3 separate regions of the Homo sapiens genome follow, and regions 2 and 3 are each linked to region 1. Evidence: promoter capture Hi-C in 16 types of primary human blood cells and fetal thymus (Javierre and others, 2016). All regions are on one chromosome and are shown on one strand. Each heading gives the region's core, a stretch centred on a gene start or on the middle of the fragment in contact. The rest is flanking DNA. Distances are from core to core; before and after follow the strand shown.

Region 1 (4,286 bases), core at 1,076-3,575:
ATATTTGGTAGGGGATAAAAAGTGAAACCGGCTTTGTTATTTTTCAGGACAACATATATTCATATATATTATCTATTTTGTCTCTCCCAAATCATGTAGCAAGCAAACACCACATTCTTTTAGATTAAGACACACATTATTTATCATTTATTCTATCACAACCACCAAACTCAATACTTTACATACATGTAAAATTTCATTTTGTTTCTTCCATAAAAGCTCCCTAAGAGATGGAATTTATTGTCTGCTTTGTTCACTAACAAATCCCCAATACCCAGAATAGGGTCTGGCACTTTATGGGTGCTCAATAAATTTATGATTATTAATGAATCCTCACAAGAAAATAAGCTAATCATTAGTATTACTCATATCCGGAAAATGAGAGATGAATAACTTGGCCTACTCAATAGTGTCAAAGCTAGAACCTGAACTCAGGCATTCTGACCACAGTCTAAGTGAAGCCCGATGCTTCCACATAGGTATGTGCCAAGGGAATGTCTAACTTTCGTTGGACTATCAAGGTGTGAACTATAATGCTTCTGTTATTGCAACTAGCAGTGCCAGTTTTAAATTTCCTATTCTCAGATGACCCATGTGCTACAGGAAAACAAACACACAACTCAAATGTCTTCATGTACTCACTTATCTGAGTGTCACTTTTCTAAGAAGTGCAATGTCATTTTGTCACAGATATTAAAAGTTTTCGTCAAAGAAAATATAAGTGCAAAACTCTGACAGTTAAGTCCTTTTCATTTTTAAAGAAAAAGTTTGGCCGGGCACCGTGGCTCACGCCTGTAATCCCAGCACTTTGGGAGGCAGAGGCGGGCGGATCACGAGGTCAGGAGACGGAGACCATCCTGGCTAACACGGTGAAACCCCATCTGTACTAAAAATACAAAAAATTAGCCGGGCATGATGGCGGGCGCCTGCAGTCCCAGCTACTTGGGAGGCTGAAGCAGGAGAATGGCGTGAACCCGGGAGGCGGAGCTTGCAGTGAGACAAGATCGTGCCACTGCACTCCAGCCTGGGCGACAGAGCGAGACTCCGTCTCAAAAAAGGAAAGAAAAGAAAAAGTTGTGTTACTTATACTTTATGCAACTAGGTAACTTAAGTTCTGCAAGTTAGAAATCAAAGGGGAAAAAAGTCCAAAAAGGATATAAACTTTTGACAGCTACAAATAACAAAAAAACTGCCAGTGATCTTCATACAGAAATACTTAGCTGTACACACAGCAAGTGCTCAATAAAAATGCTTTTCAGAAGAAATGAAAATGAGACAAACCTTTCTTGGGTTTTACAAACCTTCTTGGTTTGTATACTAGAAAGAGCTACACGAAAAAAAGCAAGAAGTAACACTCATGAAAATGTCTTTGGACGGAATGAAAACCCTGAGAGGACTCCCATAATGTGACAGCATGAAGGAAAACAATAAACAGCATCACTAAGAGCGGGGACACCAGACATACAGTCTTTTGAGCAAACTAAGAAAATGAGAAATTCCGTGCCATCTTCAATCTACAACTATGGTAGATATCCGATGCTCCATCCCATCTCACTCGAAAAAGCTGGCACGGAGAAAATGTCAAAAAGGCCAGTTTAACTTAGAGTGGCAGCTGCTTCTAATTTAGAGGGTCTCCGGGGCGGCCCGCCAGCCCAATTCGCCACAGCTCCCGGAAAGCAGCGGGGTAATCCAGGGCCGGGTAAAAAATGCAGAAGCCTCAGCCCCACCCCAGCCCGATTCAAACTCTGGAGGCGCGACCGGGATGAACATTTTTTTAGCCACACCTCCAGACGGTTCTTCAGCCCGCTGAAGTTCAAAAACTACCGTTTCAGTTGGATTCAGGGCAAGGGGAGGCCGGTAAGTCGCCCAAAAATAAAGTGAATGAGAAGCAGAAGTTGTTAATACTATATCCCCCGGCAGGTGCTAACCGCACGCCGACCCGACTGCAGCGCGGGAACGGAAGGAGGAAACGGAAGATTTGAAAAGATTCTGCCGCCCCCAGAAACTGTGCGACCCGTGCCCTCGCAGCCACCCCCAAGAAGCTCCGTCTTTACCAACGCGAGCAGCGCAGCAGCTTCTCCAGGCGGTCGAGCGCGGCGCGACTGTGGGCCCAGGCACCGCGACCATCCGGTTCCATGGCGGGCGCGGAACGAGGCTCGTTCCCGGAGCGGATCCTCGGCTGCCGGTTCCTCGGCTGCCGATTATCCGGCATCGTCCCGCCTTCGGATGAAAGGCTCCTCGCAGAGCGGGAAGCAAGGAAGCCTCGGGAAACCACAGGGAAGCTGCAGGCCAGCGACTCGAAACCGGCCAAGCTCTTCCCGCGTCTGGGACGGCGGGCCGCCAGAGGGGCGGGGCGCGCGGGGAGGGGCGGGGCACGGCGGCCGCAATGCTCCCAAAATAGGGACTCGCAGGGCACAGGGGCGGGGCCGCGAGAGCCAGCCGCTGGCCGAGTGGGCGGGACCTAGGGGTGGGGCTGGAGGCTGAAACTTGCCAAAGTCCCGGCGTGTGGGACTTAGGGGAGGGGCCGCGAGAGCCGTGGGACCGAGGGGGCGGGGCCGGACGGCTGAAACTTGCCAAAGTCCCGGCGCGCGGGTCCTAGGGGCGGAGCCGCGAGAACACGCCGGGGACAGAGGGGGCGGGGCCTAGGAGCCTCGGGGCGGGACAGGACGGTCGAAACCGAAGTCCTGGCGCGCGGGGCCCAGGGGCGGGGCCTAGGGGCCTCGGGGCAGGACAGGACGGCTGAAACCGAGGTCCCGGCGCGCGGGGCCCAGGCGCCGTGCAGTGAGAGCACGCCGCTTGACCGAAGGGGCGGGGCCTGAAGGCTGAGCGCAGTCGCGAGGCTGTAGTTGGCAGGAGAGCGGGCGGGGCCTGAAGCCCCTCTGGGCTGCCTGGACGGATGAAGTCCAGGTGGAAAGCCAGTCGACGTTTCCCGGGAGCTACGACTCCAGGGACCCTCATCCGAGCTTAACCGTTGGAACAATCACAAACCCAGAAACTTTTAGCTGAGTGTTATTTATAAAAAGCGCTGTTTTGACTGCTGTTGGACTTGGAAAAGCTTTGCCCACGATACTGAAGGTACCACTCTTTGTTCCTAAGAAAGCAACCTTTTCTTTCCTCTCACCTCAGCTGTGGCGTATATTGTAACTGAGTAAAAATAAGGAAAGTTTCTAATTCTAACTAGTTAACAAATATCAGCTCAAAGGCATGTCTGAAAAGATCTGGTTTACTTTTAAAATATTGGTATAAAATTTCAAAAAGGGTTTTTTTTGTTAGAGAGTGTGTCCACCTTCCTCCTCCAGATCTTTCACTGATCGCCGTAATTTACAGATAAGACCTACAGAGCAACCCGTCATGCCTTCCTGCCGCGCCCCAAGTTCATTTCCAAGTCCTTGCATTTTTTCCCCCTAACTTGTCTCGAATGCACCCATTTTCTCTCCGTCTCTGCTCCACAACATCCCCAGTTGCCTCGTCCTCGCCTGGTTTCCTGTCGTAGCTTTCTAGCTGATATCCAAGTGTCTATCCAGGTCCCAGCCAGTCCCGAGACTGCGGTGTGGCCGCCTAAAACATTTCCAAACACAAAACTCATCGTGGCACTTCCCTTTCTTAAAACTCCTTAAAGTTTTTCTCTGCTCTTTGACTAGCCTCTTGTCAAAACCTCCTCTGGCCATCATGGTCCCAACCCCACAGTGCGTTCCCTTAGGTCATTAAAAGCCCCTGCACCTTGCTGCCTCATGGCTTTTGCGCAAAGATTCACTTTGGAACCTGGAATTGGCCTCCTCTCCATTCCTCATCCTTCAGAATACAGCTGAAGTATCACTCCTTAAAGGTTTTCCTAGTTCCTAGACTGGATTCTCTCAGGTGCATCATATCACCTGTGTATGTAGATACACACACATACGATTATGTGCGTGTCCCCTTCTAGTTCAAAACCTCCAAAAGGCCAGAGATTGGCTGCATGTGACTCATTTCCCAATATCGCTTCATGTGGCACATGCAGTGCTTGGCTCCAGGTAGGTGCTCAGTGTTTGTTGAATCATTGAACTACCTACCCAAGCCAGACCCAGCTTTAAGTGCTTTCCTATGTTAATACCTGCCTTAAGCCTTATAGGGACCCTATGAAATGGGCATTAGTATCTGTAGTGTCACCCCCAAATTCATATATTAAAAGTTGTAACCCCAACGTGATAGTATTTGGAGGGGACCTTTGGGTGGTAGTTAGATTTAGATGGGGTTATGAGGGCAGAGCCCCCATGATGGGGTTAATGACCTTGTAAGAAGAGAGAGTT
Region 2 (4,286 bases), core at 990-3,489, 2.1 Mb before region 1:
TGTTTCGGCAGAGCTGATGTAAAGTCCTTGCTGTCCCTAATGCCCAGACTCACTGCAGAGGCTCAGCACAATCCTGAGAGTGTGAGAAGTCAGAGCAGACTGCCCTTCTGGAGTGCCTTTAGGTGACCCAAACAATTGTGGTGTGGACCACGTTTGGAATCAGGAGATGAAAGCCTCTTCTAGCACATGAATTAAGACAACCAGAGGCTCACCTCCATCAGAAGGGCCCACAAACCAGTGGTTCTCAAATATAAAAATGCAAAAGAGTTGCCTTAGTTTATTAAAATGCATAATCTGTGTTGGCATAAAGGGAGTGACCTCTTTTTAATGTTTGACACTTGACAGCTTTTAGATCCCCAACCTCCCTGCCTGCCCCATATTTGGGCAGCCACATTTAGAGGACCCACATGTGCCAATCATCACCTGGTGCTGGAGGGGAGTTCACATTTCACAAATCCCTAGCCCTTGCTCCAAATTCTTCCCTAACCCACTTCATCGTGTGTCCGGAATTGGTGGGTTCTTGGTCTCGCTGACTTCAAGAATGAAGCCGTGGACCCTCGCGGTCAGTGTTACAGTTCTTAAAGATGGTGTGTCCAGAGTTTGTTCCTTCAGATGTTCAGATGTGTCCAGAGTTTCTTCCTTCTGGTGGCTTCGTGGTCTCGCTGGCTTCAGGAGTGAAACTGCAGACCTTCGTGGTGAGTGTTACAGCTCACAAAGGCAGTGCGCACCCAAAGAGTGAGCAGCAGCAAGATTTATCGCGAAGAGCAAGAGAACAAAGCTTCCACCAAGCAGAGATCGTTACTGCCGCTGACTCGGGCAGCCTGCTTTTATTCACTTATCTGACCCCACCCACATTCTGCTGATTGGTCTGTTTTACAGAGAGCTGATTGGTCCGTTTTGACAAGGGGCTGATTGGTGCATTCACAAACCTTGAGCTAGACACAGAGTGCTGATTGGTGCATTTACAATCCCTTAGCTACACACAAATTTCTCCAAGTCCGCACTAGATTAGCTAGACACAGAGCACTGATTGGTGCCTTTACAAACCTTGAGCTAGACACAGGGTGCTGATTTGTGCATTTACAACCCTCCAGCTAGACATAGAAGTTCTCCAAGTCCCCACCAGATAAACTAGACACAGAGCACAGATTGGTGCGGTTACAATCCTTTAGCTAGACATAAAAGTTCTCGGAGTCCCCACCAGATTAGCTAGATACAGAGTGCTGATTGGTGCATCCACAAACTCCGAGCTAGATGCAGAGTGCTGATTGGCACATATACAATCCTCCAGCTAGACATAAAAGTTCTCCAAGTCCCCACCCCACTCAGGAGCCCAGCTGGCTTCCCCTAGTGGATCCTGCGCTGGGGCCGCAGGCGGAGCTGCTCACCAGTCCGGCGCCACGCGCCCGCACTCGTCAGCCCTTGGGCGGTGGATGGGACTGGCCCCGCGGAGCAGGGGGAGATGCCCGTTGGGGAGGGTAGGGCCGTGTGGGAGCCCACGACGGGGCGGGGGAGGCTTGGGCATGGCGGGCTGCAGGTCTGGAGCCCTGCCCCGCGGGGAGGCAGCTGAGGCCCAGCGAGAATTCGAGCGTGGCACCCATGGGCCGGCACTGCTGGGGGCCCGCTGCACCCTCCGTAGTTGCTGAACCAGGTGCTAAGCCTCTCACTGCACGGACCAGCAGCGCCGGCCTGCCACTCTAAGTGCAGGGCCACTGAGCCCGTGCCCACCCGGAACTCGAGCTGGCCTGCGACCGCCGCGCAGCCGGGTTCCGCCTGCGCCTCTCCCTCCACACCTCCCTGCAAGCAGAGGGAGCCGGCTCTGGCCTTGGCCAGCCCAGAGAGGGGCTCCCACAGTGCAGTGCCGAGCTTCGGGAAGCTCGGCCAGAGTGGACGCCATGGCCTGAGGAGGTGCCAAGAGCGATCAAGGGCTGATAGCACGTTGTCATCTCTCAATAGCTATTATAAGGGCCCAGTCCACTCTCTCTCCTTGGTTGTTGTTTACCTCTTGACTAAATTTATAGACTTTCTTCTTTTAGACTCCCTCTTCTATTTACTATGTACACTTCACTTCATATCCATGGTACCTATGTGTCCATCATCTCAACATCCACAAATTCCTGAGGCGGGGATTACTCAGCATCCGGCAGGGATGAGGACAGCAAATAAAATAAGGGAAAAAAAAAAGTGGGGACTCAGTAAATCCAACTTGAGCTGTGTTGAGAGTTGTCAAATTAAGAGATCTACATAGGCATTCATGATCTTCCAGATTTCTCAGATTGATTACAGCAGCCATGGGGACTTTGACCAGACCACGCTCCAGAAAGCAAGTACTGGCCTTAAGTTTATTCTAGACTTCAGGACAGAAGAAGGCATAAGTAAAATGCTTTTCAAAACCAAGGTCCATCTTAAAGCCAGAGGTCAAGGAAAGGTACTGCAGTCGTCAAATAAGATACCTGGAGTTAGGGGCAGCTTGCTTAGACAGAAGTCAATGGAGAAAGCAGCTAACAGAACCTGTAACTGGAGAGTAAGAGAAGAGACTGTCATGTTCAGAATTTCACTCATACAATACTAGAGATGAGCAAGTCACCATAGGCATTAAGCAATCAGTATTTAATAGAATCAAGCACAAACCTGTTGTAAAATTTCCTTTCATTGAAAACCTAAAGTACCTTCTAGAGGTTTTTTTTTACATCTTTTCTTTTGTATTGTGATAGAATCTGTTTGTGTATGGACCAAGGCAACAGGGAACCTGGGAAGGAAGGTAGGGCAACAAATGGCAAAGAGGGATTAAACAACAACAAAAATTTCTGGTCCCTAGCCACTTGCACCTGGTGGAGAGTGTCAAGAAAAACCACAGATTTATACCTGGAGCTTTGCAAATTAAAAAAGATATATTAATTCTTTCAACAAATATTTATTGAGTATCCATTACCTGTCAGACAGTTTGCTAGGAGTTAGGGATGCAAATGCGTAGAAAACAGTATTTTCCCTTGAGCAGATTCCACTATCAGGATGAGGCCAGCAAACAAAACTTATAAGTTCTAACCGAGGTGTATATTTCTATGAAAATATAGACAAGGGACCATTTCACTCTACCTGATGAAAATGAGTGGAGAGCCACAACCAAGCTATAAAGAATGGCCCAAGATACCTACAAAACTAAGGCCGATTTCAAAGACAAGGTGTGAGTTTAGAAACTACCGATAGGTAAGAAAATCACGTCCAGACAGATTTCTTTTAAATGTTAAGTATTTCCCATGTGGGGATGGACTGGCATATCAAGACGACTAGTTTAGTGAATTCTGCTGAAACCAGGAAGTATAGAGGACTATGAAAATTAAAACTAAAAATAAATAAATAACTAAATTAAATACTTAAAAATGCGATGGACAAAAACAGTGTTGAATTTGGAATGAGATGTAGAAAGAGATAGGCATTGTTCATTTTAGAGATATCAGTTTACCGATTCAATTTAATGTTTGTTTCTTTCAATCCAATAATTTTCCAAAAGATTAACAAGAGTCCTAATTTGTTCCTTATTCAGCAAGAATTGCAATACAGAGCACTTTAAAAAAAGTATTTCAGGCTCCCTCTCTCCTGTTTTCTCCTTCCGTGACCTCTTGTAAGACTTTGATCATTTGAAAGGAATGTGTGGGTGGTGTGTAACCTTTAGAAATGTTTTTCTGCCAATTTACTAGAGGGAAGCTTTATTTCTCTTTTCTTTTTTTCCCCCTTGCCCTAAGTTCTGCACAAAACCACATCTCACTGTGTTGTGCAAAGCCATTCAGAGACATCCTTGAAAGACTCCAATGAAGAGAGATGGGAGTCAAGGCTGTGAAACCAGACAGCACCCCCTCAAAACCAGATTTCTGTGGCCCCAAAACAATTCTGCCTCTTTATGTGAGATGGCTTGGTGGTTGGTGAGTCATATTACCAGGTGTATTTATAGACAACCCATTTTAAAAATAAATAAATAAATAAATAAAAGCAGTTATTGCCTTTTTAGAGTCTCAGAAGGAGCAAAGAGAATAGCTAAAAGAATGTCTGAAAATTAGAAATGCTGCTATTATTAGAGAGTAGGCTAAGTTCAAAAAACTAAAGAATAAAAGAGTTCATTCAAAAGATAGGGATTCTGGCTGAGTACTCTGTCTAGTCCACAAGATTCTTCCATAGTGGCTTGCACTTGAAAGATGATCAATAAAATCTGTTGTGGAATAACTAGCAATGATTGTCAAAGAACAAGTTGGCTCGCATCTGTTTCATGTATCTATTTCACATTGCAATTT
Region 3 (4,286 bases), core at 1,189-3,688, 2.1 Mb before region 1:
GCAACTATGGAAAGCAAAGTTGCAGATAAGGGGGGATTACTATGGTTTGGTGTTAATCTTGGTCAACATAGTGGCTCTGCACCCCAGGGAGGAAAAAGATCTCTGTGTCTCTCTCTCTCTCTCTGTGTGTGTGTGTGTGTGTGTGTGTGTGTGTGTGTGTGTGTGTACATTGAACAGTGCTAACAGAACTAAAAATAGCTTTACCCGTCAGGCCTGAAAAGCACTCAGATAGGAATAAAACAGAGAAAGACAGCATTTTCCTAGAGCAGGAGTGAGGATAGAGTACAGACCAGGACATCCATGAAGGTTTAGTAATATACAGCCATTGATAGTGGAACAAAAGGGGCAGAGGTAAGCCAAGAGTGGTGCACTGATAGCTAGTGGGTTATTGCCTAAGGGAGCTCCAGATGATGGCTTAGCAAACTCAGCAACCAACTGGGCAAAGCCAATAGTGCAGGGAAACTGGAGGTGATAGCTTGAGTAAATTCGCTCCACAGCAGCAACCTAAGAGTCTCTCCAAGGCCATCCAATTGAAAACCAAGATAAAGGTACCTGATAAATGAGTCATTAAATACACTGTGGGCTCTTCTAGAGAAAGCTAGAAAAGAGGAGAAACAGCAAATGTTTGAGGTCTTAGTATCCTTAAGGTATGGGATAAGATTGAGATGGCTGTTTTGAAATTAAAACAAAAAGATATTTTGTTTGAACCTACAAACAGGTGAAGTCTGATGAGATAATTGTTACATATTTAAATATCTCTGTCATAGCAAAAGTTAAGCAAACTTTAATTTCTTTACTTCCTATTATGTTTTTCCTTGCAACTTGTCAAAATAAACAAATAAATTGGCTTCTGTGTGTGTATGTGTGTGTCTCTGTGTGTGTGTGTGTGTGTCTCTCTCTCTCTCTCGTGTGTGTGTGTGTGTGTGTGTGTGTGTGTGTGCTTATCAGTTTCCCTGAGTGGGGTTACCTTTGGTTAAACTAGTAAAATCATTGCTATTTGGACTTTCCAGGCTGAGGATCCAAATCTAAAGTCATTGTAAACCAAGGAACATTCACATCATGGGCATGAGATATCTAGTGAGTCTTCTTTCACAATTTCCCTTTAATTCATTTTCTCCATTTCCTACTGTCATAATCATGATCCAGGCCCTAATTAACTCTCATTTCTCCATCTAATGAACCTTACACACTGCTTCCATTATGCCTTTTCTAATTCCATTACTTCTACCTAGAATGTCTCTAAAACTTACCCATATTGCAAGATCCAGCTCAAATATTACTTTCTGCATGAAAAATGTCCACATCACCCACACACAAATTAACTACTTCTTCCAGGAAGTCTTATAGCAGTTTATTCATATTACACAAATGGGGCTTCTTTACCTCCTTGTGTGGCAGTTTGTGTGTGTGTGGTGTATGTGTTTGTGTGTGTGTTATGTATACTCATTAATTATTTGGAAAGTTCCTAAGGACAAGGACCCCATCTTCAGATCCTAGCACAGTGTCCCTTGCTCACATTAACCTTCCCTCCTAGCCTATTCTCTACGCATCTGAGGCTGTCTGTTGAATTTTTATTGCTTTTTTCTCTCTCTCTCTGGGTGATTCCTAATGCCTATGTAAGCTAGATGTCACATGCATATAATCATGGGAGGCTTGAAAGGGGAAAAGATTTGATTTGCACTAAAACATATATTGTCTCACTCAGAAATGTATTTGTCTTTTCAAATTCCCTAAATTTTAATAACCTTTTCAACTCTTTTCAAATCTTCTACATTATCCATAAGCAGAAAATATAAAATAGTGAAATATAATGAAGATAAATAAGTTTTCCTACTGTTTCTCATATTATTCCCTTTTTAGCTAGAGTTTTTTCACTATTGAAATAATATTTTACAAGCACCATGTTGATGACTCACAAGCATATAATTCAGCATCAATCAAATAAATAAATCAAAGCTAAAGGAGTCATGCTTCAACTTCAATGTTGCAAATTGTGCTATCACCTAACAATTTCTTTTAGCGCCAATTAGTTAACTTAACCATCGCTAAGAGGTATAACTTTTAAAAGGGCCAAACTTTATGGTCTTTCAATAGGCAGGTGCAGCTATGCCACAAAACATTCCATTGGTGTTTGTGCATGCACGAATTCTACAATCTTGCCAAATTCCATTCTACAATTTAAGAAGCCAAAAAAGAGGAAGAAGGAGGAGGAGGAGGATGAGGAGGAAAGAAAAATAAAGAAAATCAAGTTAAACTGATTTCATAAAAGAAAAATATACCTCATAGGCATTCACTCTGGAATAAAACAACTCTCATTCAAGTTTCATTCACCCAATTTATATGATACTTGAGCCTAAGACATCAAAAAAGTCTAAGCTGGCCTCACTCCAGTTACTAGTAAGCATTGTTTACTAGGCATGTAACAATAGTCTTAATATAGTAAGCTCTGGTTTCCTCATCTGGAAAATGGGGATTAAAACTAATGCTTGCTTCATAGAGCTATTACGGGAATTAAATAAAATAATGCACATTAAACAAAAACAGTGTTTAGACCACAGTTTGTGCTAAATAAAGTCAGCTATTATTTTCATGTGATAATAACTATTGCATTTATGCCAATCTGTGTGTATACAAAACCAAAATGAAACTAATGCAAGTACAAATATCAACTATAAATTTTATTCCAGAGACTGATCTGTGAGAAATAAAAAGGTAAAGCCAGCATGGGCCTAATAACCTGCAATGATTTTCTAGGACTCTCTGTATTGCCAGATAAAGATTCAGAAGGTTGATTATTAAGCTACTCAAGGAGATACCAGAGAAAGGTGAAAACCAACTTAAAGAAAAAAAATTTTTAAGTACAGGATATATATGAAAAACTAAACATTTTCAATTTCATATTGGCTTATTTTGGTTTAGAACATATGGATCTACTGTAAATGCTAATCATTTGTTATCTTGAATAAGTTCGGTGTGTAAAACATGTGAGTGATCCTGAGCCCCAGCTGAGGAAATGATATTTGAAATTTCCACAGCGAGTAAAGTTTTAGCAAACTGTGTCTGTGGTATACCTGTGACAAATCAAACTAACGTGTGACAGTAGATTTTAACAACAACTCAAAATGCTATGATCTTGCACTCGGTTCTTTCAGCTACAAACATTAACCTTAGTTCATATCCTCATTTGTGGAAAGTTGTAACCCTATGGATGATCCACTGAGTTTTTCACCTTCTATCTGAGGATGTTGGTGGTGTTCAGGGTAGGTATCTCATAAAGCTCCTAAATGACTTACCGATGGGGATAATAAGCATTTAATAAACAATTTATATTCCTGTTAGTCACACCAATGCCTTTTTAAAAGAGAGCAACTCAAAACCTTAAAAATCAAAACTTCCATTTTCTCTTATTATTAATTGAAATGCTTTCATTAATGGTGATAGAATAATTGGCATTTACTATTTAGGCTGCTAAATGTCCATTATCAAGTGCTGATGAGCTTCAAGAAATTGCCCTTCTTACTGCAGTGTAACCTGAATGCTTTCCACACTTCCATCAGCTCAGATAAGGTGCACCAAATTATCTTTCCAACTACAGTTGTGTCACCTGAATGCAATTAACACCTTATTACGCGTTAAGGCATTTCTACAGGTAATAAATTAGTCATGGCTCAGTACCTTGCAATACTTCTTTAGTACAATACTTGATACACTCACTGTAGGCTATGGAAAATTCTGAAAACAATTAAATTTTTTAAAGCAATACAGAGATGATTTTATATCTGTCTTAGTAATGCTGATTGTACAAGCACTCACAGGGAGGAAAGTAATAAACTGAAGATGTCTCTTTTATGACCACAGAGTTTCTTCTGGATTCGAAGTTAGGTGTGAGAAAGCTGACAAATGTATTTCTAGAAATTTTTAATTAAATTACTAAATAATTCCTTTACTAGTTTTTGCTCCTGCTTTCTTTCCTACACTGAATTTTTTTTTTTCTTTAAGATGGAGTCTCACTCACTCTATTGCCCAGCCTGGATTGCAGTGACTCAATCTTGGCTCACTGCAACCTCCGTCGCCTAGGCTCAAGCGATTCTCCTGCCTCAGCCTCCAGAGTAGCTGGGATTATAAGCACGTGCCACCATGCCTGGCTAATCTTTTTGTATTTTTAGTAGAGACTGGGTTTCATCATGTTGGCCAGACTCGTCTTGAACTCCTGGCCTCAAGTGATCTGCCCACCTCAGCCTCCCAAATTGCTGGGAATACAGGTGTGAACCACTGCGCCCAGCCTC

Evidence for each region. Contacts are between HindIII fragments. The CHiCAGO score rates a contact against its expected background, and 5 or more counts as called.
Region 2: a contact is called between a fragment that was not itself captured here and the fragment with the promoter of BARD1 in region 1, in 1 of 17 cell types (fetal thymus). The highest score is 6.3, in fetal thymus.
Region 3: a contact is called between a fragment that was not itself captured here and the fragment with the promoter of BARD1 in region 1, in 1 of 17 cell types (fetal thymus). The highest score is 5.4, in fetal thymus.

The regions. Positions count from the first base shown.
Region 1 is chr2:214,807,358-214,811,643 of GRCh38, forward strand. BARD1 (BRCA1 associated RING domain 1) reads right to left here and starts at 2,326. Exons shown (of 11, transcript NM_000465.4): 1 at 2,055-2,326. The coding sequence starts at 2,212. SNHG31 (small nucleolar RNA host gene 31) reads left to right here and starts at 2,872. Exons shown (of 4, transcript NR_110292.1): 1 at 2,872-3,075. RefSeq lists enhancers at 1,265-1,314, 1,605-1,684 and a silencer at 2,235-2,804. The HindIII fragment of the contact is 4,673 bases long and covers 1-3,053 here.
Region 2 is chr2:212,719,661-212,723,946 of GRCh38, forward strand. No RefSeq gene overlaps it. Among named protein-coding and RNA genes, the nearest start is that of LINC01878, 74 kb to the right of the region's middle. The HindIII fragment of the contact is 2,927 bases long and covers 777-3,703 here.
Region 3 is chr2:212,736,028-212,740,313 of GRCh38, forward strand. No RefSeq gene overlaps it. Among named protein-coding and RNA genes, the nearest start is that of LINC01878, 57 kb to the right of the region's middle. The HindIII fragment of the contact is 9,709 bases long and covers 1-4,286 here.